Linked DNA regions of Homo sapiens: region 1 is linked to region 2. The links are contacts of gene promoters, found by promoter capture Hi-C in human tissues and cell types (Jung and others, 2019). All regions are on one chromosome and are shown on one strand. Each heading gives the region's core, a stretch centred on a gene start or on the middle of the fragment in contact. The rest is flanking DNA. Distances are from core to core; before and after follow the strand shown. Region 1 overlaps ERICH3 (glutamate rich 3). Region 2 holds the start of LRRC53 (leucine rich repeat containing 53).

Region 1 (6,607 bases), core at 1,721-4,220, 91 kb before region 2:
GTGCATTATTGCAATGGGCCTTGACAAAAAACCGTCTTTGCCGAAATCTAGGAAAGAAAAGAGCACTGAGAAAGGAGAGGAACTGAAGAAGGCTGAGGGGAAAGTGAGGAAAGAGAGAGAGTATGTGATACCAAAAAGAAATGAGATCAAGGAGAACAAAACCTCTGTTTCAGCCAAATTTTCAGCTCAAGAAATAAAAACAGGGCTCAAAGAAGTGGTAACTGCTGTGGAGGAAATGACAAGTAAAGGAAAACCAGGACAAGAAGTCTTGGAAGACGACCAGGAAAATACTTTAAAATATGGTAATCAACAACACAAGTTTCTTTTGTTGTAGCTGTGGCTGTTTCGTTTGTCTTTGAAATGTGATGATCAAAATTTTCAAAAATACCCATTAAATGTTACCCAGCTGTGTTACATGTGGGGTGCCCCTGACCTCCTTCCTTTGCTGTTTTGTATGGAGTCCTGTGTCACCTACCTTAGAGGAAGGCAGACCTAGCCCCAGAAAGGTTAAAGGTTCTGGCTGCAGAGATGAGGAGAGAGAATGAGTACATGTCAATGTGAGTTAGAGACTCTATTGACTTCTGCAGAGACCATTTTCACCAAATAGAATTTTACCTATTTTAAAAGTTTTTGAATGTACTGTTTTTCATGAAATTGATGAATTGCTTTGACATCAGGTAGGTACAACCTATATGATTATATGGTGATAGAGTATGCCATAACTAAAGGCAGTTGACTATAGGCTTAGGGTTGTGGAACCTATCTGTCTGCTTTTTTTCTTTTGCTTTCTTCTTTTTTCTCTGTTCTCTCCTTCCTCTCTCCTGCCTTCCACTGCTTCTCTGTCTCCCTCTCTCCATACACATACACCCACCCACCCACCCACACACACACACAGACACACGCGCATTCATATATATACATACACACATATATATGCAGGCACATCTCATTTTATTGTGCTCACTTTATTGTGCAAGCTTTGCAAATATAGCACTTTTTATAAATTAAAAGTTTGTGGCAACCCTGCACCAAAGTCTATCAGCATCATTTTTCCAACAGCATGTGCTCACTTCATCTCTGTTTCAAATTTTCTCAATATTTCTAACTTTTTCATTATTATGATATCTGTCATGGTGATCTGTGATCAGTGATCTGTGTTGTTACTATTGCAATTGTTTTGGGGTGCCATGAGCTGTACCATGTAAGAAAGTGAAGTTAATCAATTTTCTGACTGCTCCACTGACCAGCTGTTCTCCAGTCTCTCTCCCTCTGCTTGGTCTTCTCTGTTCCCTAACCCACAACAGTATTGAAATTAGGTTAATTAATAACCCTACATAATACACTCTAAATGTTCAAGTGAAAGGAAGAGTCTCATGTTTTTCACTTTAAATAAAAAAAAAACGATTAGGCTTAGTGAGGAAGGCATATCAAAAGCCAAGACAGGCTAAAAGCTAGGCCACTTGTGCCAAGCAGTTAGCCAAGTTGTGAATGCAAAAGAAAAGTTCCTGAAGGAAGTTAAGAGTGCTACTTCAAGTGAACATGTGCATGATAAAAAAGAAATCGTTATTGCTGATATATAGAGTATTTTAGCGGTCTCAATAGAAGATCTAACTAGCCACAACATTCTCATAAGCCAAAGCTTAAGTCAGAGCAAGGCCCTAATTCTCTTCAATTCTATGAAGGCTGAGAGAGGTGAAGAAGGTGCAGGAGAAAAGTATGAAGCTAGCAGAGGTTGGTTCGTGAGGGTTAAAGAAAGAAGTCATTTCCATAGCATGAAATTGCAAGGTGAAGTAGCAAGTGCTTATGTAGGAGCTGCTGCAATTTTATCCAGAAGACCTAGCGAAGATCATTTATAAATGTAGCTACATTAAACAGCAGGTCTTCAGTGTAGATGAAAAAGCCTTACATTGGAAAAAGATGCCATCTAGGACATTCATAGCTAGAAAGGAGAAGTCAACACCTGACTTCAAAGCTTCAAAGGATAGGCTGACTCTTCTTTTATGGGTTAATGCAGCTGGTGAGTTCATGATGAAGCCAATGCTCATTTAGCATTCAAAAAATCCTAGGGCCCTTAAGCCTTATGCTAAATTTTATCTGCTTCTGCTCTATAAATGAAACAAACAAAGCCTGGATGACAGCACATCTATTTACAGCATGGTTTGCAGAGTATTTTCAGCCCACTGTTGAGACCTACTGCTCAGGGAAAAAGATTTCTTTCAACATCTTACCACTCATTGACAATGTACCTGGTCACTCAAGAACTTTGATGAAGATGTGCAGTGCGATAATGTTGTTTTCACGCCTGCTAACACAACATCCATTCTGTTGTTATCCTTATGGATCAAGGAGTAATTTTAGATCTTATTCTTTAAGGAATATATTTTGTAAGGCTATAGCTGCCATATATAGTGATTCCTCTGATGGATCAGGGCAAATTCAATTGGGAACTTTCTGGAAAGGATTCACAATTCTAGATGCCATTAAGAACATTCATGATTCATGGAAGGAGGTAAAAATATCAACATGAACAGGAGTTTGAAAGAAGGTGATTTTATTCCTCACAGGTGGCTTTGAGGAGTTCAAGCCTTTGGTGGAGGAAGTAATTGCAGATGTGGTAGAAATAGCAAGAGAATTAGAAGTGGGGCCTAAGATGAGATTGAATTTTTGCAATCTCATTATAAAACTTGAATAGATAAGGAGTTGCTTCTTAGGGATGAACAGAGAAAGAAGTTTCCTGAGATGAAATCTACTCTTGCTGAAGATGCCATGAACATTGTTGAAATGACAACAAAGAATTTAGAATATGTATAAAATGTATTAGTTGATAAAGGAGTGGCAGGATTTGAGAGGATTGAGCCCAATTTTAAAAGAGGTTTTACTGTGTGTAAATGCTGTTAAACAGCATTGCATGCTACAGATAAATCTTCGTGAAAGGAAGAGTCAATAGATGTGGCAAACTTTATTGTTGTCTTATTTTAAGAAATTTCCATAGCCACCCCAGCCATCAGCAACCACCACCCCGATCAGTCAGGAGCCACTAACATCAAGGGAATATCCTCCACCAGCAAAAAGACGATGACCAGTTAAGGCTCAGATGATTGTTAGCATCTTTTATCAATAAAGTGATTTTAGTTAAGGTGTATACATTGGGTTTTTAGATATAATGCTATTGTATATTCAACAGACAGCAGCATAGTAGAAACATAATTTTGGATGCACTGGGAAACCAAAAAATTTATATCACTATCTTTATTGCAATGGCCTGGAACTGAACCTGCAATATCCCTGAGGTATACCTGTATATCGAATATATATATAGGTATACATTCACAGATCTAGGTATGCTTGTATATACTTACATGTGTATATAGGTATGCCTGTATATGCTTATACCTAAAGCAGCAATAACAACAATAATGAAAGTGCCAAGCACTGAGCACCAAACTAGGCACTGTGCACACACTGTCTCATTTTATCCTCACCATTCAACATGATAGGTATTATTACTACTTCAATTTTACAGGCTGGGAAATTGAGGCTTAGATACACAAAAAGAAAGTAGCAGAATAAGAATTTGCACCCAGGTTTGTCTAATTCCAAAGCTCAATCTTTCAAACACTATACAACCTTCTATTCTGTACAAGTTAGCCTACCCACTAAATGGTTGTGGATAGTGTGTCCAAAGTATCAGAAAGGGAGAGCTGCTTTGTGTCCCTCATACTCAAGAGACAAAGCTTGGATAGGGGGCACAATAACCATGGGTTGGGGTACCTGTGGAAGGGCTGGCTTCGGGAAAGGGACAACTTCTAGGTATCTTCTTCCCCACCTCATATTTTTGCTGCCCAAGTGTTTCAGAAATCCAAGAGAATAATTACAGGGCTGTTATAGCACTAGACTTCATGTTTGATTATTACTGACTAAAGTGAATCTTTTACAAAAGATTTCACTTAGAGCACTTTTACCAGCTCACCATTCTTCACAATCTCTTCTAGTCTTTGTCTTATCTTGGGATGAGAATTTTAATATATCTGCAGCAATAGTAATCACAGAGGTATGAACAAATAGGATGTGTTTTCATGTGTTTTAACTTTGAAGCATGGTGGTTTATGAAAGTCATGTTCAATGAAAGCTTTTCATTTTCTTTTTTTTTCTTAAACCAACATAACTAGTGCTATGAGTGATGTACTTTATACTCATGATACCTATGATAAAGCTTTTCCTGAATTCTTTCTTCTGTGTTGGCTAGTTAATGGACTTTAAATGTCCATTTCCTTTTTTAAAAATGCAGCCACAGCCGCAAGGGTTTAGCTCTCTGCATAATAGTCGCTGATGTAAGGACAGCAAGAAGTTTGAATCAAGGTCAGCAAGAGAAGGTTGTGGCTAGATTGATGTTGACCCCGTGTTGACTCACGTCCTCATTAGTGGGGATGGTAAACAACAAGCTAATTAAATTCTCTAGAAGAAGGCAAATGGGATGGGAGAACAGAAGAAATTATGTAAAAGATTTTAGAAAGCATGTCGCTGGCTTATTCGTATCAAAAACATGAGTAGATGACACAAAGGTGGTGTGCTTTGAGCTATAATGACAGTTTGGAAGGTTTGTGGTTAACAGAAAGCTAATACTTAAATGTGATGATAGCAGGGATAGAATAAAGCCAGGGCAGCCTTGACTTTCATATTTGAGAGAAAACACAAAATACGATGCTGGGACTGTTCTTGTGGTTCACTTCGTGTTCCTTCACTTTTGTGCTGTGCCTCAATTATATAACTGTAATTGTGTCCTAATTGTGGACACTTGTACTGCTCTGATTTTAATCAGGTGCCTCCACTAAAGTGTGTTGCTGTCAAAGGAGTACATATCGTGTGTGATTTCTCCTGTTCTATAATCTACTCCCTTCACTACCCAATCACAAGGACGATTACTACTAATCCATAATATTTATTATGCCCCTGATATTCATGGCACTGTGCTAAGCATGTTCCAGGGATTATTGTTCTCAATACTCACCATAGCGTTGTATTACCCATGTTACAGATGGAGAAACTGAAGCTTAAAGACAAATTGCCCACGGTCACATAGTCAGTAAGTGTTTTAACTGGGTCTTGGGCACATGAATGCCTGATTCCCAAACCTTGACATTTCACTACTATGTAACACTATGGATGGAATTGCAGCAATCCACTCATATTCTCTCTGGCCCTCTGCTTATCTTATGGTCAGTAGCAAACTCCTGTAGTGTGATATATGTATGTGTATTCTGTAGCTAACCTTACCTTCCTCTTTTGGGAAGTCTTCCATGAGTCCCTAAAATGACTTTCCATCCTCCTTTCATTACATTCTGCTTACTTGACACTACTTCACATAATTAATTATATGTCCTATCTAAAAATCTATAGCAACCCAGCCCCATTGTGTTGAAAAACATTACTGAGGATCACATATTAAAAACTACTACAAAGTGAGTACAGTATTTCTTGTGTACCTACATCTTCTTTCCTCAATAAAAATTGGAGAGTCTTTCATGGCCGGGATTGTCTTATTGTAATGTCTTCTGTCTTGCAATTTTATCCTCTTAATCATAGAAGATTCTCAAAAAATAGGCTTATTGATTGATAGTTAACAGGGTCAGGTGAGGAATTATCCTATAACTTGGCCGGCAATACTTGGATCAAAATATTTACTCGTTTTTATTAGTAGTTTCTGTTTGTGTCTAGCAACATAAAGCAAATTCTTCATCTTCTTGCTTATTTTACAATTTTGGTTTACTGATATTCATATTTTATATTTAAATGTATTAAATTTCTTTTGTGGAAACATTTTTGTGATTATCTAATTTTCTTTGTTATAGGTTTTGATTTCACTTTTCCCCTTACATCTCCCTCATCCTCTGTATTTACAGAGCTTTCTGCATATGCACAGGGTATACATTTCTAGATTAAGTTTCTTTCACTGGGTGGACAGCTCTCAAGTAAATTACCCGAGAGGCCCCCCTCCCCCACAGAGAAGCCAGAATAGCTAATAACTAAAACACACAAAATTGAGAAACATTTATTCTCTCGGTAATTTTTACTTTAAGGATAATTGTTTATTTGCTTAATTGGTTCTGCATGAGATCCTTTTGCTCTCTATCCTTGGCATGTTGTCACTTCAAGATTTTTAGTTTTTGGTGGAAGAAAAAGGGGAACAGTTAAATATGAAAGGTGAAAAATTATAACCACGAGGGACAGCTGGAGTTTATCTGATGTGACAATTTCCTTTTCCTGCTACAGATTTATAGCACCTCTGCAGGGAATAAAGCAAATATGTGGCTGTGACAGGAATATTCTATTTTGTGTAAATTTTTATCATTGAAATGTAATTATTTCATTTATTGTAGGAATGAATAATGCATATGATTTCATTTCTGGCCTACATATAGAATCCTTCATAATGCCTTTTCTTGATGTCCATTTGTTTCTTAAATAATGTGCTATTCACAGTGTTACTTCTCAGGGCTCTTGGACTTGATTAATTGAATTTTTCCACTTCACTATTCATTAAGTTGATATCCAAATATTTTGAACATTTTTCATATGAAATATGACCTCACTGGATCTCCAAATTAAC
Region 2 (6,551 bases), core at 1,148-3,647:
GCACTTCAGTCCCTGCCTCCATCATCTTCACATGCCATTCTTCTGCGTGTCTTTGTGCTCTTCTTATAAAGACACAAGTCATCTTGAATTAAGGGCCCACCCTACTCCAGTATAAACTCCTATGAACTTCTCACATCTGCAACAACCCTGTTTCCAAATAGGGTCACATTTTGAGGTACCAGGGTCTGAGACTTCAACATATCTTTTTGGGGGATACAATTCAACCCACAATACCCCTTCACATTTTTACCACAGTCTTGATCTTGTTTTTTATCATGAGTTCCAAACAGAATTTCTTATGGTGTCCTAAAAAGAGCACACATGGCTTTGGGATTAGATAGACTGGAGTCAATCCCAGCTTCCCCCCTTACTATCTCAGAAGATGTTTCCTGTTTTGACCAGTTTTCCCATCTTCAAAATGGAGATAATATCTACCTAGCAAATAATTGGGGATATTATATTAATAATATGTGTACTAGTACATAGTAGGTTCTCAATAAATTCTATCAAGACTTTTCTTCTTAAGTGAATAATTGTTAGATAGTAGAGAACAACAGCAATTTCTATTAAAATGGACCTTTTCATTAATGCTCCCCTTTTTACTTAAATGCTTCCTCTCGATAAGGAACTTCTGTGCAAGTGTATACACAATCACACAAATTGCCAAAAGCATCACAAAGCGCTTTCAGCTTGTCAGCTTGTAAGCCTCTGACAAATACATAGAATTGTGTGAAAACGCTTTAAAACAATTGCTCCTAGCATTTTGGTCAGAATGTATTTATTAGACCGTATCTTATACTTGATTGTGAAAATAAACAAGGACATAAATGATCTGGCTTTAAATGCTCTATAAAATCTGCATTACAAGACTCTATGATTCATAAAGGAAGCTTCTATTTTGGTGTGCCTGGGTAAATTTGGCTATGCAAACTTCGAATAGCCTTTGAATTGAAAAACGCAGTTATCGTTTACTGGCTGACAACCTTTTCAAGGGAGAGAGAGGCAGGCACTGTACAACCAAAGATAACTTTACTTAATTAGTTTTTGGAAGATTATTTACTCCCCTTAGTCTATAGAAAAACAAAGGTCTGTCAGCACCAGATGCATCTGAGCTTTGCAGATGCGGTTGTGGCTTCTTGAAATCTTTAAAGATTCATCTAAAATATGCTTTCAGGTCTCCTTTTTGTGAAACTTTGACAGGATAATAGAATTAGATTTGCTGAAATTCACTAAACTGTAAAGTAATGTGTCATCAGCTTCACTTACTTTCCAAAAAATATTTCTCTCTGGTAATGCTCATCAATCTAGCTTTTCAACCCCTAAACATGAAACTCTGAAACAAAAAGGATGACTCCATCAGTTACGCAAGTGACAAGATGTTAAACATTTAACACTCCCACATAGTAGCGCCAGCTGCCTCTGGATGAAGCAGATTTGCTTAGGTTTGGCATAGAGAAAAAAAGGAAGACAAAGAGAAGAAAAATGAAAGGAAGAGGAACTCCTCTTGCAGTGAGAATGCAAAGTTCTCTGCAGATGTGCAGGAGTCTGAAGTGGGATGTGCCTTCTGCACAAACCTTTTCTTCTGAGGGAACATTGCAAAGACAGTCATCATCAGGTTCTCAACTCCTACTACCAGTGCCCCTGCATCCCCAACATTTCATGGACTCACTCTGATAAGAACACCTAGTGCACTGGATTAAAATAATGAAAGGACAGGGACTCAGTAAATTTCCACATCCCGGTATAATTTCTCAATAAATATCAGCTGAATAAACGAACTAGGAAAGCACACGTGGACCTCTGGGTCATTCGGACTCTTTCTCCACAACCATTTCCTCATCTTAGGCACCTACCTCTGCTGTAATCTCAGGCCAGTGAAACAGTATCGACTGAGCAAGCTGTGTGCTAGGTTGATTCTAACAACAGAATCCCTTGACTTTGTTAACAGCCCCAAACTGGCATCAACTTTAAAGAGTCAAGACTATTTTCCTCTTTAAGTGTCTTATCAAGAGGAATGTTAGTGAAAGGGCAAAAGTCGTCTATAGTTTTCCACGGTGAGCCATTTACCCGGATGAGGGACAGAAAAGGCCAGCTTTAGGTGATCACATAGTGACCCCATCATAAGGCTTGTTAACAGAGAAGTTTTCCTTGTAGAGTGAGGCATGCTGCAGGGGGTGCCCATTTTGAAGAATACAGTATGAAGCTCCCAACAGTGAAGACAGAATGGTATAAATAGCAACCCGTCAGTGGTAGGTGTTTGTTCTTTCACTCAGTGGACTTCTGATGAGTAACTACCATGTGCCAGGCGTTATTCCAGGCACTAAAGGATGAAGCCAGGAGGGGGTGGTGTGGGAGTGGAGATGCATATAAAGAGGAATAAGGCATATGGCTGAGATGCTGGACAGTTAACTCAGTAGGTCTCAGATTCATCATCCACCTTTTAATGTAGAGATTCACAAACTACAAGCTGTGAGACCTTTGGGTAAGTTAATTTCTTTCTTTTGGTGTTTTTGTTATGATGGCTGGATTTTTACACCTTTATTTCTCTTTCCTCACCATTTAAAGAGACAGACTTATAAACAGATGATCATGTGGGTGATGTCATCAGTACAGGAATGTCATCAGTGCAGGAATAGTTGAGTGCCATGAGCCACCCTGCAGTGTTGCCTGTTTTGCACAGTTCTAGGGGCCAATCTTGGGTTCAAGGTGGAGCTCTACTGTGTCTATGTCACTCATGTCTCATCTAGATTACCATATTATCCCTAGCTCCATGTTTGAGTCTGTACAATCACTGACAGTAAACACAGCTGCAGAAATCATGCCCCTTTATGGTCCCTCACAGGTTCGAGTCATGCCCCAGGGCTATTTCAATAAAGACTGGTGGCTGCTATATCCAGTCCCATCCAGATCTTTTCATGCTCACTGCCTGAATGAAGAGAAGAGTCTGAGGTCTCAGTGACTGGAAGGGAAGCTGCATGAAGGAAAGCTGCCCTCTTCCTTCCGATTTTCCTTGGGTACTGAACTTACTTGACTCCATGTTCTTTTATTTCTACTTCTATTGACTTTAGATCCTCATCTATAGCTTCTGCTCTACCCACACTCAACCCTTTGCTGTTCCCAAATGTACTGTGCAGGTTCCCACTTTCCTGCCTTTGTCCCTGTTGCTTCCCTTTCCTAGTACACTCTTTCTTCCTTTCTCTGCTTGGTTAACTCTGCCAAACTCAAGTGAAACGGGATGGCTTTTGGGAAGCCTACCTTGACTCTTCTCAGGCTCACAGGGCTTCCTACACATGGCTCAGTACTTATCTTCCTGTGTGTTTCTCTGACCTCCTCCCTTAAACTGTGAATTCCCCCAGGACTGAAGAGATCTCTAATCCATCATTGGGTGTCCAATATTTACTACATGATTCAATATATAAGAGCTGCTTAATAAATGATAGATAAATGCATATCCAATGGAATTAGATCAGTGAAGAGGCTAGCGTAATAGGGAAAATGACACATACATTTGTGTTTTCCACCTGTAAGTAATATATTGTTAATTCTTTAAATAAAGAAAATAAGAGTGAATTACTTGAGGTCAGGAGTTCGAGACCAGGAGTTCGAGGCCAACATGGCAAAACCCTATCTCTACTAAAAATACAAAAATTAGCAGGGTGTAGTGACGTGTGCCTGTAGTCCCAGCTACTCGGGAGCCTGAGGCACGAGAATTGCTTGAACCCGGGAGGCAGAGGTTGTGGTGAGCCGAGATCGCACCATTGCACTCCAGCCTGGGCAATAAGAGCGAAATTCCATCTCGGAAAAAAAAAAAATAGGCCGGGCACGGTAGCTCACGCCTGTAATCCCAGCACTTTGGGAGGCCAAGGCGGATGGATCACCTGAGGTGATCACCAGGAGTTCCAGACCAGCCTGGCCAACATGGTGAAACTCTGTTTCTACTAAAGATACAAACATTAGCTGGGCATGGTGGCAGACGCCTGTAATTCCAGCTACTTGGGAGGCTGAGGCAGGAGAATCACTTGAACCTGGGAGGCAGAGGTTGCAGTGAGCCAAGATCGCACCATTGTACTCCAGCCTGGGGGACAAGAGTGAGACTTCGTCTCAAAAAAGAAAAAAAGCATATTCAGTTTGCTAAAACTCTTTATACAAGAATACAAGACTAGCTATCAAAATACTGGGCCTCTCTGGGTAGGGGCAGACACAGTGCTGTGTACCTAGAGGGAAATCAACACACATTTGTGAGCTAGTTGATTAATTCCATGAACTTTTCAATGCTAGCCATATTTAATTAAACTTTATATACTGTTCAAGATCCTATATATGTCTTTCCCAAAGAGAAACGGAAGTTTATTTAACAAAGTATAACACATAGATCTGGTAGTTGGTAGTTTTGAACAAATTATAGACAAGGTGCTGTTTAATTTAATGAGCAATAATTTTTTAAAAATTCAAGAGATTTGACAATCTCTCAATAATTTTTTTCTCATTTTATTCTTTTTTGAGACGGAGTCTCACTCTGTCACCCAGGCTAGAGTGCAGTGGCGCGATGTCGGCTCTCTGCAAGCTCCACCTCCCGGGTTCAAGCCATTCTCCTGCCTCAGCCTCCTGAGTAGCTGGGACTACAGGCGCCAGGCACCATGCCCGGCTAATATTTTTTGTATTTTTAGTAGAGACGGGGCTTCACCATGTTAGCCAGGATGGTCTCGATCTCCTGACCTCGTGATCTGCCCGCCTCGGCCTCCGAAAGTGCTGGGATTACAGGCGTGAGCCACTGCACCTGGCCTCAGATCTTTTTAAAAGGTGAGAACTGATTGCCCTCTCTACTACTGATCTCAGGAAGTAAAAATCAGGGGGTAAGAAATGTAGTTAAACATCTCTAAGTCATGTTTAAACTCAGAACTGTCTACCTTTTACAAAAGAAATAAAATACCCAAAGAATACACAAGCAATAGAAAATCTGTGACATTGAAATTCAAGCTGGGCGCATAGGCTCACACCTTGGAAAGCAAGCAGATCGCTTGAATTCAGGAATTCAAGACCAGCCTGGGTGACTTGGTGAAACCCTGTCTCTACAAAAAATACAAAAATTAGCCAAGTGCAGTGGCGTATGCCTGTAGTTCCAGCTACTTGGGGAGCTGAGGAGGGAAAATCACCTGAGCCTGGGGAAGTTGAGGCTGCAGTGAGCCATAATCGCACAACTGTACTGGGTAACAAAGTGAGACCCTGTCTCAAAAAAAAAAAAAAAAAAAAAAAAAAAAAAGAAATTCAGATCACTCAAAACCAGAAAGCAGTTCATAGGTACCTTTCAAAATCAAACACAACACTCTATTCCTTAACATATATGACATGACAAAAACAACAATCAACATTTTAATATTGGTGCTTTGTCCTCAATTTTATTTATTTCATAATTTCATAATTCATTGTCCTCTATGTTAATCTGATAAAATATTATTGAAGAAAAGAGTATACGATTTATCTTGCCCTAAACAATAAAGGACAATTTTTAAAATAAAATGAAAATCATTCATTTGTGTAAAACCAATAAATTTAGATTTGTTAGTTCTCAAGCATCTTAAATCTTTTCTATTGTTATGTAGTACTCTAGCATTCAGCAGCCACATTCACAATTGACTATCGCTTTATTTTCAGGGATTATAGAGAAAAATTGAAACCCTCAAATGTCATTTTCCTGATTTCTGTCATTGTCATAAATAGCTGCTGGGTAGAAAACATCCAGAAACCTTTAAGTTATTCCAAATGGCAACTTGACTGAGGAATGGTCAACACTGTCAAATTTGACAATCAAGTAGTGTAAATAAGTAAGGAAAAGCTGTGAGAAATTTATGGGTAAAGCTGCTATTTAATGAGGAAAAAGGAGTGCTCTACTATCTCAAAGAGAATAAGTGATAAAAAGAAGAAGAAAGTGTCTGAATAAGGATCCCGAATTTCAGATAGACACAGGCTTTCATTTCTCACCCTCAGAAAGGGGTTTATCCATCCGTGGGTAGAACTGTGAAATAGGGACATTTATCTTTAGTTTAAAACAAAACAACATAAGTTTCTCAGGGATGATATTAAGTGTTTTATATGAATTTTCTGCAGACCCTGTAAAAACCAGACAAGGTAATATTATGGTCCCTATTTTAGTTACTGAGGCCCAAGTTTACACTGTTCTTAAAGGCAGAGGTGGGATTAGAACACATACCTCTGGCTTCAAGATGCAAGCTCTTTCCCAGTATAGCACACTAACTCCCACTTATGTTATCAGCAAAGCACCCTTCCTCCTGAGCCTCCCTTCTACCAGACATATGCCCCGGGTTGGGCTCTGACCTATAGCTTGCTGTTGGTTTTCTCAGTTTGTGTGCAGTCTCCCATGCTACCGCTCTGGCAGACTGATTCGCTACTTATCCTCTGAATGCAGTCTGCCTCCTGGCCTGTGGGCTATTTTTTAACCCTTTTCTCTCTGTCTTTTGTGGAGTTTGGTGTCCAGATTCACCAGTTCTAGAACTACTCTGGCCAGGTTTAAGTCCTACATCAGGCATTTGCCA

Evidence for each region. The method cuts DNA at HindIII sites, captures the fragments that hold promoters and counts their contacts. A contact is called where the count stands out against the background at its distance.
Region 1: a contact is called between a fragment that was not itself captured here and the fragment with the promoter of LRRC53 in region 2, in 2 of the 25 tissues and cell types used here (H1 embryonic stem cells and bladder).

The regions. Positions count from the first base shown.
Region 1 is chr1:74,600,296-74,606,902 of GRCh38, reverse strand. ERICH3 (glutamate rich 3) reads left to right here. Exons shown (of 15, transcript NM_001002912.5): 10 at 1-302. All of the region lies in intron 1 of ERICH3-AS1 (ERICH3 antisense RNA 1), which reads right to left. Among named protein-coding and RNA genes, the nearest start is that of ERICH3-AS1, 26 kb to the right of the region's middle. The HindIII fragment of the contact is 3,324 bases long and covers 1,309-4,632 here.
Region 2 is chr1:74,508,457-74,515,007 of GRCh38, reverse strand. LRRC53 (leucine rich repeat containing 53) reads left to right here and starts at 2,397. Exons shown (of 5, transcript NM_001382280.1): 1 at 2,397-2,482. The region is part of intron 25 of FPGT-TNNI3K (FPGT-TNNI3K readthrough); the gene reads right to left. All of the region lies in intron 23 of TNNI3K (TNNI3 interacting kinase), which reads right to left. The HindIII fragment of the contact is 11,973 bases long and covers 1-6,551 here.